Linked DNA regions of Homo sapiens: region 2 is linked to region 1. The links are contacts of gene promoters, found by promoter capture Hi-C in blood cells and fetal thymus (Javierre and others, 2016). All regions are on one chromosome and are shown on one strand. Each heading gives the region's core, a stretch centred on a gene start or on the middle of the fragment in contact. The rest is flanking DNA. Distances are from core to core; before and after follow the strand shown. Region 1 holds the start of ZNF347 (zinc finger protein 347). Region 2 holds the start of ZNF616 (zinc finger protein 616).

What was found. Contacts are between HindIII fragments. The CHiCAGO score rates a contact against its expected background, and 5 or more counts as called.
Region 2: the fragment with the promoter of ZNF616 here is called in contact with the fragment with the promoter of ZNF347 in region 1 in 14 of 17 cell types (naive CD8 T cells, total CD4 T cells, total CD8 T cells and 11 more); the score reaches 17.6 in naive CD8 T cells.

What each region holds. Positions count from the first base shown.
Region 1 is chr19:53,155,561-53,163,139 of GRCh38, forward strand. ZNF347 (zinc finger protein 347) reads right to left here and starts at 3,493. Exons shown (of 5, transcript NM_032584.3): 1 at 3,449-3,493. ZNF665 (zinc finger protein 665) reads right to left here. Exons shown (of 4, transcript NM_024733.5): 4 at 6,864-7,579. RefSeq lists an enhancer at 3,396-3,690 and a silencer at 3,426-3,675. The HindIII fragment of the contact is 5,586 bases long and covers 149-5,734 here.
Region 2 is chr19:52,137,369-52,144,947 of GRCh38, forward strand. ZNF616 (zinc finger protein 616) reads right to left here and starts at 2,570. Exons shown (of 4, transcript NM_178523.5): 1 at 2,364-2,570. It also overlaps the pseudogene RPL37P23. RefSeq lists an enhancer at 2,166-2,405 and silencers at 2,526-2,805, 2,816-2,865. The HindIII fragment of the contact is 2,387 bases long and covers 527-2,913 here.

The DNA.
Region 1 (7,579 bases), core at 2,243-4,742:
CTGGACTCAAGCAATCCTCCCACCTTGGCCTCTGAAAGTGTTGTGATTACAGGTGTAAGCCGCTGTGCCCAGCCCTGTGTACGTGTCTTAATGGAGAACACCACTCCCTAGGTACAGGGATGAATTCCCTTGAAGTTAAAATTTTGAAAGCTTTACAGATTGTGAAGGAAAAAAAAAGTTAAAATTGATGGCACGCATATTGTCCTGAGACTGTGAGTGAGGCTGGTACATGGTACACAATTGCAGGGCCAGCAGCAGCCAGAAGCAGGAACAGGCCATTCCCAGTCACTACTGAGTAGAGATCACAGGTCCTGACAGGTGGGTGGGCCACTTGGAGGTCTTTTCCTTTAGTCTTTGAGATAGGAAAAAACCCAACTCTACATTCTGCTCTCACACTAAACACAGAATACTTCACCTCTAGTCACCAAAATGTGTGTGTGGCTTTTCCCACAATGACCAGGGGACTCCCAGGGGACTCCCAGCTCGGGGGGGGGGGGGGGTTAGGCGGGGGTCCTACAATTTCATTCAACTCTGATATTATCTACAAGACAGCATGGGCCGGGCACAGTGGCTCATGCCTGTAGTCCCAGCACTTTGGGAGGCCAAGGCAGGAGGATCACTTGAGGCCAGGAGTTAGAGACCAGCATGGCCAACATGGCAAAACCTCGTCTCTACTAAAAATACAAAAATTAGCTGGATGTGGTGGTGCACACCTGTAATCCCAGCTACTTGGGAGGCTGAGGCAGGCAGGAGAATCGCTTGAACTCGGGAGGCAGAGGCTGCCTTGAGCCAAGATTGCGCCACTGCACTCCAGCCTGGACAACAGAGCGAGACTGTTTCAAAAAGAAAAAAAAAAAAAGACTGCATGACGAGGTGCTACAGGTTCAGAGCTCAGTCTAAAACTGCCCCTCACTTCAGACACAGTATGCCAGTGGTAACTGTCACTTATACTTTTGAGTGACCTGATAAATACTGTGGTTCTCTTAACCCCTCCTCGGCTTTGATTAACTTTCTAGGACAGCTCTTCCTTCTGACTGTTCATCTGTATCTTCTGTAATATCCTTCATAACAAATGTGTAAACTAAGTGAAGTGTTTTCCCTGAGTTCTTTGAGCCGCCCTCACAAATTAATAGAACCTGAGGTGGTGGGGAGGGGGATGTCAAGGGAATCCCCAGTGTATAGCTGGTCGCTCAGAAGTTCAGGTACCAACGGGAGACTTACAACTGGCACCTGATGCGGGGGCAATTTCGTGGAACTGAGCCTCAATCAGTGGGATCTGATGCTAACTCCAGGTAGAGAGTTTCAGAATTGAGTTAAACTATACGACACTCAGTTAGTGTCTGATAGAGAACGGGTTGTTGGTGGGAGAAATCCGCACACATTTTCGTGAGTGGAGGCGAGACACTGTGTAGAATGTGCCCTGTTGTATTGAGTGTGACAGGAAAGAAAATCAAAGGAAAAATATTTTTTCCTCTTAGTTCATACACTCGCCCACACCCTACCCTATTCCAGGAAAAGGGAAGTGGGTGGACTCAAAACTAAATGAGCGAAGTCACTGCCCTCTGGTTTGAATAGTGATTGCAAATGAAGCTATACCCTAATACTAATAATTGTCAAATGCACGTGTTACGCATTTTACATAAAGGAGTTTCTTCCATTCTCATTTGCAACTGCATAATTTAAGTAAACGTATTTTAAATGTGTTGCATTATTTTAAACCCAGAAACCAATGTCACAATGTCATCATCACATCTAATCAACGCACCACTCACCTGGACTCAGGGTCCCTCTCTTGCTTCCATACTGTGTGTTTCCCTCCCTCATCCTCTACATAGCTCTCATTCTCACATTAGCTTATTTTTTATTTTCTGTGTTTTTCCCCTGGTTCTTTGCGCGTCGTTCTGAGCCCCTCTCATCTCCTGCTATTTCTCCCCTTCTTCCTCCGCTTGCACCTGTTCTGTCCCATTCTGGGGCCTTGTTTCAACTCTGATTCCTCTTTCTCCCCAGTCTTTTCATTGTCCCCAGTCTCCATATATTTCTGCCTCTTTCTTCTCCCATCTCTGCTCCCTCTGTTGAATCTCCTCTTCCCTTCTACACCTCTTGCCCCACTCTCTGGCACCCCCAGATCCCAGGCCTCCCCCTGCTGTGGTTCTCCTTCTGCTCTCCTCGTCACCGGCTGTCCCCTCTTGCTGTCCCAGCACCACGCTGCTTGTCTGCCCTGGCTCCAAATCCCTCCTCCTCTCCCGGACTCTGTCTGAGGAGCCTCCCACTTTCTGGCCCTCTCCCTACCTTGCTGTCCTTCATGTCTCTGGACATCGAGCTTTTCTCTACATTTCCCCAGTTGCTTTTCTCCTTCTGCCTTCTCAGCTCCTTCTCTTACCATCTGCAAATCCCTCGCCCATCCTCTACTTTGCCATCTGGTTACGGGTTTCCCTCACTCTTTCCTCTCAGTTTTTCTACTTCTCTCTCTGTCTCTGCCCCTTTCTCTACCTGCTAATCCCCTTGGTCCACACATTCACAGGAAGGTTTGGACTAAGACGCCTGCATCTTGGAGGAGCGCATTTTCCAGGGGCTGGAGCTGGGCAGGCAAGAACACCGGGTGTCACAGGACAGGCCCCGGGCACCTCCCCAGCGCGGGCTCAGGAGAAGCGGGGACTGCGAAGGGGAGGCCTGGGGAGCAGCAGGGCCCGGCACGAGGAGGAGGGAGGTGGCGGGGCGACGGCGCCTTAGAAGAGGGGTGGGGTCTGCAGGATGCCAGGACCAGGCAGAGGACGCGGCCTCGCCGGTACCGGGGCTGAGGAGCTGCGCTCCAGGGGCCGACGAGGGCGAGGCTGGGAGGCACCCAGGGCGGGAATCCACCTCGCGGGCGAGGACTTTAAAAAGCCCGGGGCGGGAGGAGGGGTCAGGAAAGGGTTTTAAGCGGGAGGAAGACGCGAAAGGCCGGGGACAGGGAGAAGCCTCAGAGCTACTTCAACCCAAAGAGAAGCGACTCCGAACCCACACCGCGAGTCAGCTGGGGTGGAGGGCGCGGTGCGGGGATCTTAAGGTCTGTAGCTGCCGGGCGCAGTGGCTCACGCTTGTAACCCCAGCACTTTGGGAGGCCGAGGCGGGCGGATTACCTGAGGTCAGGAGTTCGAGATCAGCCTGGGCAACACGGTGAAACCCCGTCTCTACTAAAAATACAAAATTAGCCGGGCGTGGTGGCACATGCCTGTAATCCCAGCTACTCGGGAGGCTGAGGCAGGAGAATCGCTTGAACCTGGGAGGCGGAGGATGCGGTGAGCCGAAATCGCGCCATTGCACTCCAGCCTGGACAACAAGAGTAAATCTCCGTCTCACCAAAAAAAAAAAAAAAGAAAAAAAAAAAGGTCTGTAGCGAGCCCGGGAACTGGCTGCGGAAACGGGGCACGGCGGTTCGCAAGTTTAATCCATACTGAGGGACACTCACGCTCGGCGGCGTCACCCGCACCCAACACGATCCGCTTCCGGAACTGCAGAAAACTGCGCGTGCGCGGAAAAGAGCCCGGGCACTCTGGGGGCGGGGCCTGGGGAGAGGCGGGGTCTGCGGACGAAACGCTGGGGCGGAGCTGGGGCGGGGTCTGCGCTTCCCTCAGCCTGCCTAGCCCGCAGTCTCATTTTTCCCGGTTTAGAAACGCTGGAGTGTTCACTATGTCCCCGGGAGCACCGTTCCAATTTGAAGCAGTTTTAAGGTGAAAGAATAGACTTACGTGGACCACTTATGATAGAAACCAAAATGATTTCCTCTTACCAAGTTGAAAACGGTTTATGTTAAAATTGTTTGCCGGCGGGTTGGACCCAGTCCTGCTAGGGAGTCTGCTGCAGCTCAGGAACGGGGATCTGGGAATCGGGGATCTCGGTCTGGGAACTGGGATCTTAGTGGAGGATCCACGAGGCACGGCGATTGGATCCAGCAATTCCTGCAATTAAAATGTATTTAATTTAACTAAAATGTCTGGAAATTATCTCTGAGGATGATTCAAAGTAGAATGGGAAATGCAGCATCCTACCTGGACGGATATGCAATTTAATGCAGTAGCCCAACAGAACCTCCTTTACATTTCAAATCCCCATTCTCCCCAGTGGAAGAGTCAAGCCTGTGCTCAATTCATGGGAAGGTTAAGGCCGATAAGTTAGATCACCAAGGGCTGCTTTATTGTTCTTTAAAACATATATTTTTGTAAAGATGGGAGTCTCGGCCCAGGCTGGTCTCCAACTCTTGACCTCAAGCAATCCTCCTGCCTGGGCCTCCAAAATTGCTGGGATTACAGGAGTGAACTACTGTGCCCAGTCAACTACTGATTTAAACCATGTGAATTTTTAAAAAATAGAGATAAACTGCATTATTTTTGCTTATATTCGTTATTCCGTTCCACACTTGAAATGACTTAACCACAAACAACTTTGACATAATCTTTCTTTGCATCAAAATATGCTTAAATCAATAATTTCTAAATATCATGTAATTTCAAATTCACTTTATGGGCATTCTGAAGGGAACTTGACACAGTACTTTTTATTTTAAAATTGTAATCTATATTGGGTCTATTTTTTTGTTTTCTGTTTCTTAATGTTCTATCAGATGTGGATAACAGAGTGTGGAAAATAGTCACCACATGACAATTGGATTTATTTTCGCCTAAAGAATAGTTTTCCAGTATTTCTAACGTACCATCCCAGTACATTGACTGAACTAAAGACTCACAGGGATACCCTTTTTTCATGTTTATAGAGAACCTAGTTTATACCTGCTATTGTCTTATGTACATTTTCATGTCACACAATTTTATCTCCAAACAACACCCTTATTTATATACACCGTATAGTTTTCACTTTAACAAAATATTAAACGTTTCATCTGGGTTACAATATATGAAAGAAAAAAATAAAAGGGAAAATCATATTAAAAAATAAAAAGTAATTTTACTACAATTGAACATAAACCATGAAATATATTGCTCAATACCATAAACTGAAAATAACATTTCCATAGCCTTTGGAGAAATGCCCTTCCAGTAAAACTGCTTAATCATATTTATTATGTAAGAAACTTTTCCACAGATTTTCACTGAGTTAGTATAAAAACATCTTAGGCATTATAACTAAACAGGATTTCAAAAACATTTTCAACAGTTGTGTTATTTTTAATGAGTCCTATGGGTACAGCGGAAGAATAAATGTAGAATATTACTATCAAGAAAACTAGGGCAGGGCGTGGTGGCTCACACCTGTAATCCCAGCACTTTGGGAGGCAGAGGCGGGTGGATCACTTGAGGTCAGGAGTTCGAGACCAGCCTGGCCAACATGGTGAAACTGTCTCTACTAAAAATACAAAAATTAGCCAGGCGTGGTGGCACATGCCTGTAGTCCCAGCTACTTGGGAGGCTGAGGCAGGAGAATCACTTGAACCTGGGAGGTGGAGGTTGCAGTGAGCCGAGATCACGCCACTGCATTCCAGCCCCGGTGACAGAGCAAGCCTCCGTCTCAAAAAACAAAACAAAACAAACAAACAAAAAAGAAAACTGGGGTCTTCCCAAACCAAGAATTCAGAACTTTCCAGAGTAAATAATTCAGTGTACTAGCGTCAGTCTCCATTTTGTGATGTTGTACTACTAACGCTTTTACAGCTCTGCACTTCTGTTCTGCCCATTTGGTCAAACTGGTCATGCTTGAGTGCTTCCTCCTTTGTCACTAGATGGACGTTCAAACCACACAAAGCTTCCTCTAACCCATCCCCACACCTTATCAACCATAACACACCAAGCAAGTTGCTTATCTGGGCTCTCAAGCCATTTTTAGACCAGCTTTGGAAGTCTACCCAGCTTTCCCCAGAAACCCACATTATGTAATAAACAGTCTCATAACACTTCTCAACCAACCTTTAGGTGAAGTTCAATACAGTTCCAGTAGAGAGGTCACAAGTTCAAATGATCAAAATGTTATGAGGGTGAACATACAAACTTTGTCGTTTATCTGCCAGGAAAAAAAAAAATCTGAATGTGTTATGTTCTTTCTTAAAAGAAAATTTATATATATTAATTTTTCCAATTGCCACTGAGCATTCCAAAGGTAAAAAAGAGATGTTGTTGTTTTTATCCATATTCCCCACAGTTTTTTTGTTTCCTAATATGTCATATTTTTACTATACTTGTATTTTCACTTCAGGTACATCAAGATAAATGCCATAGGTGTTATTTGGCATGCAAGAAAGAGACATGCAAAAATATAATAATACTGTGCATATGCATGAAGAGCAATGCAGACTTCAGGGTGTGAGAGTCTGAAATATCCTTTCTGTGGGATTTTCATTATACCACATAAGTATCCCAAGGCAGAGTGTGGAGAGAATAATTCAAGTACAAAATACAATTAGTTTCTGGGCTGGGCATGGTGGCTCACACCTGTAATCCCAGAGCTTTGGGGGGGCCAAGGCAGGTGGATCACTTGAGGTCAGGAGTTCGAGACCAGCCTGGCCAACATAGTGAAACCCTGTCTCTACTAAAAATACAAAAACTAGCCGGGTGTGGTAACGGGCACCTATAATCCCAGCTACTTGGGAGGCTGAGGCAGGAGAATTGCTTGAACCCGGGAGACAGAGGTTGCAGTGAGCCGAGATCACGCCACTGCACTCCAGCCTGGGTGACAGAATGAAACTCCATCTCAAACAAACAAACAAAAAAACCAAAATACACTTAGTTTCTGAAAATTATATGTTGTTTGATCCAACAATGGAAATCATTGTTCTAGATCCTTCGATAGCTTAATGGTGCAGTGTTGTTATCTGTTATGAAGTATGCTACTGAGGTAGGATAAAACTATGTTGGCAAGAAATGATTCATTCATACTTATAAAATACATCAAATTTTATTAGTTAAAACATTAAATCTATGATGCATTCTTAAATAGTAGCAAAATGTGATTCCAGCAGTTAATGTAAATCCTAGTAACAAACATGGGATTCTGGTTACTTTGATTAAACTTCTTATGCTCGGCCGGCCGGGCACGGTGGCTCCAGCCCGTAATCCCAGCACTTTGGCAGGCCAAGGTGGGCGGATTATGAGGTCAGGAGTTCGAGACCAGCCTGGCAAACATAGTGAAACTCCATCTCTACTAAAAATACAAACATTAGCCAGGCGTGGTGGTGCATGTCTGTAATCCCAGCTACTTGGGAGGCTGAGGCAGGAGAATCGCTAAAACCCAGGAGGCGGAGGTTGCGGTGAGCTGAGATTGCATCACTGCACTCCAGCCTGGGCAACAGAACAAGACTCCATCTCAAAAAAAAAAAAAAAAATCAATCTTTGCTATGCAACAGCTATTGGCATTTGATGGAGAAGGTAGCCTCCACTTTTCTGCATTATTTGTACCACACATCAGTCCCTAATAAGCTATTACTCTCCTCTAATAAAAATCCGAGTGTCTTCCTGGCTCTATTTCATGGTCTACTGGTAGAGAATTTCTTTCTTTCTTTTTTTGAGTCAGAGTTTCGCTCTTATTGCCCAGACTGGAGTGCAGTGGCATGATCTCGGCTCACCACAACCTCTGCCTCCCGGGTTCAAGCGAG
Region 2 (7,579 bases), core at 1,320-3,819, 1.0 Mb before region 1:
GCCGAGATCACACCACTGCACTCTAGCCTGGGCGACAGAGCGAGCGAGACTCTGTCTCAAAAATAAAAAATAAAAATAAAAATAAATAAAATCCTGCTATTTCCAACAACATGGATGAATCTGGAGGACATTATGCTGGGCGATATAAGACTGACACACAAAGACAACTACTGTATGTTCTCACAAGTAGAATCTAAAAAAGTCCAATTCATAGTAATAAGGCGGAACAGTTGTTACCACAGGATGCTGGGTGGGGAAAGTGGAGAAATGTTGGTCAAAGGGTACAAATTCTCAGTTATAAAATGAAGAAGTTCTGAGGAATCTAATGTACTTCGTGGTGAGTTTACCGCACTGGACGCTTTAACAGTTTGGAAAGTTTTTGAAAAATCTAATAAATTATGGGGTAAAAGTTAAAAAAAGGCAATATTGAGAAATTAATGACATCAGCTGATTACAGGATGACATCAAATCTTATTTCAGAAGTTAGTAATTATAGAAGAAACTGAATAAACTAAAATTTAAATCAAGCTTCCAAAATAACAATGAATTAACTGTAAAGCAACTACAAGGAAAAAAGTAAATCCATTAACAAAACAAAAAACCAACACTCTCAACTCTCCTTCAAAGACATACATTGTAGGCCTGTAGAGGTGGTTCACACATGTAATCCCAGCACCTTCAGGGGCTGAGGAGGATGGAGTGCAGCTGAGAGGCTGCAGTGAGCCGATATAATTTTACCGCACTCCAGCCTGGGCGACAGAGACCCTGTCTCAAAAAGAGAAAAAACAAACAAAAAACCAAAGATACATCTTGTAGTGACAGTCAGTCATTTCTTGCCTATTTCTCTCCTCCTCCATCCTCTACTCCCTCCCTGGAAAGAAGAGTTACAAAATGACTGAATCAAGTCACTGCCCTGTGGCTAAATAGGGATTCCAAATATCTTTTGATATAAACAAATACAAAATGCACAAGCCTTGTAGAAAAGAGTGGTAATTTTCATCCTCATGAGTACAATTTAAAGAAACAAATTTTAAATTAGAGTATAAAGTCACAAATCAATACATTAAAACCACCATCCATATCCAATCAACTCACAGCTCATCTGGGTGGGGTCCTCGCCCACTCTCTTCACTACTATGTGTTTCCCGCTCTCATTCTGCACGTCTTTTTTCCCTTTGCTGTTTTTCTCCCCTTTCTTTATTCCCTCTTTTATGTCTATTCTGCCCAATGCTTCGAAATTTATTTCACCTCTTGTTGCTCTTTCTCCCCAAACTTTCCCATTGTCCCCAGCCGCCACGTATTCCTGCCTCTTTTCCCCCATCTGAGCTCCCTGTCTGCTCTCCCTGTTAAAATCCCTCTTCCCTGTTAAATTCCCTTTTCCCTGTTACATCTCCTTTGTTCCCACTCTCTAGCACCCCCAACTTCCTAGGCTTCCTCCTTGCTGTGGTTCTCCCTCTACTCTCCTTTGTTACCCACTCCCCTCTCCTTCAGTCCCAGCACCACGTGGCTCTGTCAGCCGCGGCTCCGACTCTTACCTTTTCCGCCCCCCGCGTCTGACTGCAGTGCCTCCTCCTTTGCCGCCCCTCTCTATTTTGCTGCCCTTCAGCTCCCTGAAGCTCTCCCTTTTCCCTAATTTCTTTATGTGCTTTTCTCCCCGTGCTACTTTCTCCATGCGTCCTCTTGCACTCTTGCTCTCTTTGCCAGTACCTAAATTATCATCCATTTTGCCGTGTACTCATTCTTTTCTCCCCAGTTTTTCTTTCTGTCCCGTCGCTCCCCCTCTTTTCCTCTCCTGATCCCTCTCACCCACACATTCAGGAGGAAAGGGGAGGAATACGATGCCCACCTCCCGGAAGAGCACATTTTCCAGTGGAGTAAAAATTTGGGAAGGAACGACAGTGGGTGTCACAAGACAGACTCGGGTGACCTCCTGCAACGCGGAGTCAGGAAAAGCAGTGGCTGTGAAGGGGCAGCCTGGGGAGGGGAAGGACCCGGCGTGAGGAGGACACTAGGTGGCGCGCGGAGGACACTAGGTGGCGCGGGGGACGGTGTCTCAGGACAGGGAGGGTCTGCAGAATCCCAGGACCTGGGAGAAGAAGCGGCTCCTTCAGGAGCTGGGCAGCGGGCGCTCCCCTCCAGGCGTCGACAAGGGCGAAGCTCGGGGGTCTCGACTGGTGGGAATCCACCTCGCGAGGGAGGACTTGACTTCGCCCGGGGCCGAAGCAGGGGTCAATGAGAGTTTTAAGCAGGAACACGACCTGAATGGGGTTATCGACATGGTTATCTACATGGCAGAAAGGCAGGGGGCAAGGAACAGCCTGAGAGAGATTTTAAACCGACAGGGAAGCAATTCTCGGACTTACGTGGGGAGAAGTGCCTGTTGCAGGGGCGAAGGGGCTATGGGTATTTTAAGGTCCGTAGCGATCCCCAGATCACTGGTACGGAGAAGTGAGGACTGCAAAGTGCACGTTTAATCCAGGCAGACGGAGCGAAGTAATGTTTAATCCACGTAGACTGAAACACACACACAGCGATAAGGCCTTTCCCTGGCGCAATCTGCTTCCGGGAGTGACGGAAACTGCTAGCGGAGAGAAAAAACTGGGAGGCCAGGGGGCGGGGCCTGGGCGAGCCGCGACCAGCAAGGGGCGGGTCGGAAAGAGGGGCCTGACTCGGGGAGGGACCCTGAGAGGGTGGAGCCGGGCCGGAGCGGCAGTGGGCGTGGCTAGGTGGGGCGGGACGGAGCCGCGGCGGAGGATGGGGCGGGGTTTCATGGGGTAAGCGGGGCCGAAATAGAGCCTGTTATTTACTCTGGTTCACAGGCAGCATGTCTTTGGTTTTCTGACTACTTCTTGTCCTGTGAAGCAGCGTTGCTGCCTGCCTATTTTAAGTTAATGTTTCAAAATTTAAGGTTAAAGCTTAAAGTTGTGGTCCACTTATATTAGAAACTAAGATGATTTCTTAACAAGTTGAACTAAGTCAAAACCGATTTTTACAAGCTTGGTGGACTCCATCCACTCTTGCCGATGATGCTGAAGCTACTCAATAGTCAGGGAACTAGGATCTCGCTGGGGATTTGATGTGGAGCCGTGGCTGGATCCAGGAACCCGGAAGACATTATGCCAAGCGAAATATGCTAGACACAGAAAGACAAATACTGCCTGTGCTTTTACACGTGCAAAGTACAAACGTCAAATTTACAGTAACAGATTAGAAGGGTGGTTACCAGGGCTGGGGGATGTATCCTATGCCTTTATCACCATTATATTTTGGAAGCAGATAACTTCTCTGGCCTCACAGATTCACAGCTGGGCAGAAATTTTGCCTCAGGATGAATCACACCTTGATTCTCACCCATGTGTGGTTCAGATAATATTTAGGGGGTATTCTGCCCTAAGAGCTGATACAGGAATGGATTAAGACTTTTGAGAGTTGATACTGAAATGGATTAAGTCTTTTGAGATGGGCCAGCAGTTTTGGAGGCCCAGGTGGGCAGGTCACTTGAGCTCAAGAGTTCAAAACCAGCCTGGACAGCATCGTGAGACCCCCATCTCTACAAGAAATACAAAAAGTAGCCAGGCTTGGTAATGCACTCTTGTAGTCCCAGCTACTTGGGAAGCTGAGGTGTCAGAATTGCTTGAGGCCAGGGATTTGAGATCATCCTGGGCAACATAGCCAGACCTCTCTACAAAAAATTAAATTATCTGGACATGGTGGCCTGCACGTGTGGGCCCAGCAACTCGGAAGGGTAAGGAAGGAGGATCATTTGAGCCCAGGAGGTGAAGGCTGCAGTGAGCCATGAGAAGAGGAGATTTGGTTGGGTGCAGTGGCTAACGCCTATAATCCCCACACTTTGGGAGGCCAAGGTAGCAGGGAGCTAACTTGCATTCTTCTGTTAGCTGAGGCGTTTGATGATAAATGAAAGCAGAAAGTTTGTGACTTATTTACGTTCTTTCCACAGAAAGGCCATATGTCCTTGGCCATAAAGAAAAAGAGACCTACAGCTTATCTGCTTCCTCTATTTTTTTTTATATGTTCTGGACCATGAAGAAAGATTTATAGCTTATTTGCTTTATCTCTTTGCTTTCTCCTGGTCCTTTCAGGCTGACTCCTTTTCCCCAATTAGGGCTCCACAGACTCTACCCTCAAAGGGCATTTTTTTCTCACCCTCCTATAAAATCCCTCCCACAAATAAACCAGGATCCTATTTCCCAGCATGAAAAGTTTGTTGGAAAAAAAACTGAGGCTGCATGGGACCTTCTTTCTCTTCTTCAAAACTACTTCACCTCTTCTCTCTTTTGTCTCTCTCTTCCTAACTGCCCTGCACAATTCTAGGTCCCCAGTGAATCCTTGGGTTGACATGCAAGGGAAGAACCCATAGGGAAAGGAAATCTCTGGCTTTCAGAGATAACTTTTTGGATATCTGGATGCATTCATAACCATCCTTGTGTTACCAGAAAGGGGTCCTGATCCAGAACCTGAAACTTCCATTGCACAATTATAACTGAGAAAATTATTACAGTGAAAGAGATCTGACCTAATCAACTCCATCTTGCTTTTAACCTCCAAGCTGCTCTTGTTCATTCCTGGGCATAGGCTGAACTAACTTTGGAAGGAACTTAGTTTATAGTTTGAAACAAAGACATTAACAGCCCTTTCCCAAAACAAACCCCCTTCCTGCTTGGGGACTAGACTGCCTTTGTAAGACTAACAAATTAGGCACAAGGTGAGAGATGATGGTTTAGGAGTCATGTAGCTGGAGGCTACAAGATTCTCACCCTTCCCAGATTGTTCCTGGGGATAACATTACTATTATAAAACCTAAGATCAGTGCTTGAGATATTTTGCATTCCCTGCACTTGATGGATCACCTGACACCAACCCAGATCCATAAACTGGCTCATCTGGTCTTGTGACCCCACCCAGGAACTGACTCAGTGCAAAATGACAGCTTCAGATCTCTATGATTTCGTCTCCTACCCAACCAATCAGCACTCCCGACTCACTGACACCTACCTATCAAATTATCCTTAAAAACCCTGATCCCCGAGTTTTCAGGGAGACTCATGTGAGTAATAAAAAAATTTCAGGTTCCTGTACAGCCAGCTCCACATGAATTAAACTCTCTCTTGCAATTCCCCTGTCTTGATGAATCAGCTCTGTCTAGGCAGCAGGGAAGGAGAACCTGTTGGGCAGTTACAACCAAAAGGGAGGGTTCTTGGATCTCATGCAAGAAAGAATTAGGGGTGAGTTCACACTGTAAAGTGAAAGCAAGTTTACTAAGCAAGTAAAGGAACAAGGCAGGGTGCAGTGGCTCACGCCTGTAATCCCAGCACATTGAGAGAGGCTGAGGTGGGCAGATTGCTTGAACCCAGGAGTTCAAGAGCAACCTGGGCAACATTACAAAACTCTATCTCTACAAAAAATACAAAAATTAGCCAAGGGTAATGGTGTGCACCAGTAGTCCAAGCTAGTTGGAAGGCTGAGGTTGGAAATTGCTTGAGCCTGGGAGAATTTTTTTTTTTGAGGCAGTGTCTGGCTCCGGTCACCCAAGCAGTAGTGCAGTAATGCCATCTCGGCTCAGACTCTAATTCAACACGGAATGTTGAGCTTCTGAGCGTGATATAGCGGAAGTGCCTTCTCTTCCGGTCTCTCTGGTCTTGGCCGCAGAAGCCAGATGACGAAGGGAACGTCATTGTTTGGAAAGCGTCGCAATAAGACGCACACGTTGTGTTGCCGCCGTGGCTCTAAGGCCTACCACCTTCAGAAGTCGACCTGTGGCAAATGTGGCTACGCTGCCAAGCGCAAGAGAAAGTATAACTGGAGTGCCAAGGCTAAAAGACAAAATACCACCGGAACTGGTGGAATGAGGCACCTAAAAATTGTATACCACAGATTCAGGCATGGATTCTATGAAGGAACAATACTTAAACCCAAGAGGGCAGCTGTTGCAGCATCCAGTTCATCTTAAGAATGTCTATGATTAGTCATGCAATAAATGTTCTGGTTTTAAAAAATACAAAAAAAAATACTGAATGTTTACTCCTGAAACTTATGATGCCTAGGTTGAGAAAGACTCAATTTTCCTCATGCTAAATACTTTATACATGTCCTTTATTCATGCATACATAGGACACTTTACACAATATAATTGTTGAAAGTGCTTCTGAAATACTGTTCAAATTGTCTATAATATTTTTACACATGCACTATAAAAATTAAATTTATCAGACAATAAATATTAAATAATTTAATAAAATTGCATTTTTCAAAGGCTCTAACAATGCATATTTGAGTTATCATATTAAACATTGTATTCTATGATTTTTCAACTGTAATATAATTTTTTTTGAGATGGGATCTTGCTCTCTTGCCCAGGCTGCAGTGTGGTGGTGCAATCACGGCTCATGCAGCCTCCACCTCCCCAGGCTCAAGTGATCCTCTCACCTCAGTTTTTGTGTTTTTAGTAGAGATGGGGTTTTATAATGTTGCCTAGGCCGGTCTCAAACTTCTGGGCTCAATCTGTCCACCTCAGCCTCCCAAAGTGCTAGGAATACAGGCATGAGCCACAGAGCCCAGCCAAAACTACATTTTAAAAATAATTTTTTATCATTACACACTCCACTAGAAACCATTTAACCCAATTTATGGACTTACATTTCTTCCATTGAAGAACTTGAAGGATCCAAAAATCGAGGTGACATTCTCAGATTTGTGTGGCAAAAAAAGAATAGAAAAATAACAGATGCAAAGAATGTGTTCCACCAATATGTGGAGGATCCCTTTTATTTTAAGTTCAGGGAAAGCATTGGAATGATACAAGAAAATAAACTGAAATTGTATAATGTGGAAACAAGAGCTCTGTTGCTAATATGCAAGTTTATCACTGAGATTTTAACAACACAACATGCTAATTATACCTTAAAATATGTTTCTCCCAGTCTGGGCAACATGGCGAAACCCCATCTCTACAAAAAAATCCAAAAATTAGCTAGGTATGCTGGTGTGCACCTGTAGTCCCAGCTACTTGGGAGGCTGAGAGAAGAGGATCACCTGAGTCCAGGAGGTGGAGGTTGCAGTGAGCTGAGATCGCACCACTGCACTCCAGCCTGGGTGACTGAGCGAGACCCTGTCTCGAAATATTACAATATGTGACAGCGCAGCTTCCATCAGAAATAATTTGTTCCTCTTTTGCCCACACAAAATATTCACCTCCACTTCCTCTAACATTTTTTTTTAAAAAAAAAAGCCCAAACATAACTTTCAGTTGCAAGCAAGGATCTCATGACAGTCTCATGACACTTCTGTTCACTGAGAGCCCAATAGAGTCCTCGTCACTCACGACATTTCATGGTGGAACAGAAAAATAAAACCTGAATTAACCCTCACATTCAGAAAAGGGAAACAAAGAAGGTACTACCCAGTAGGTCCATAGCAAATGTGCAATTTTGCTGAGAAGATGAGTTAGGGCCTGGTTCCAGGAGGTCAGGAATGAATAACAGTACTTTTCATGGCTACAGTTCTCCTGAGAATAGGTTTCCAGTCCACTATATTTTGTCGTTCTTAACTTCACCCGATGACA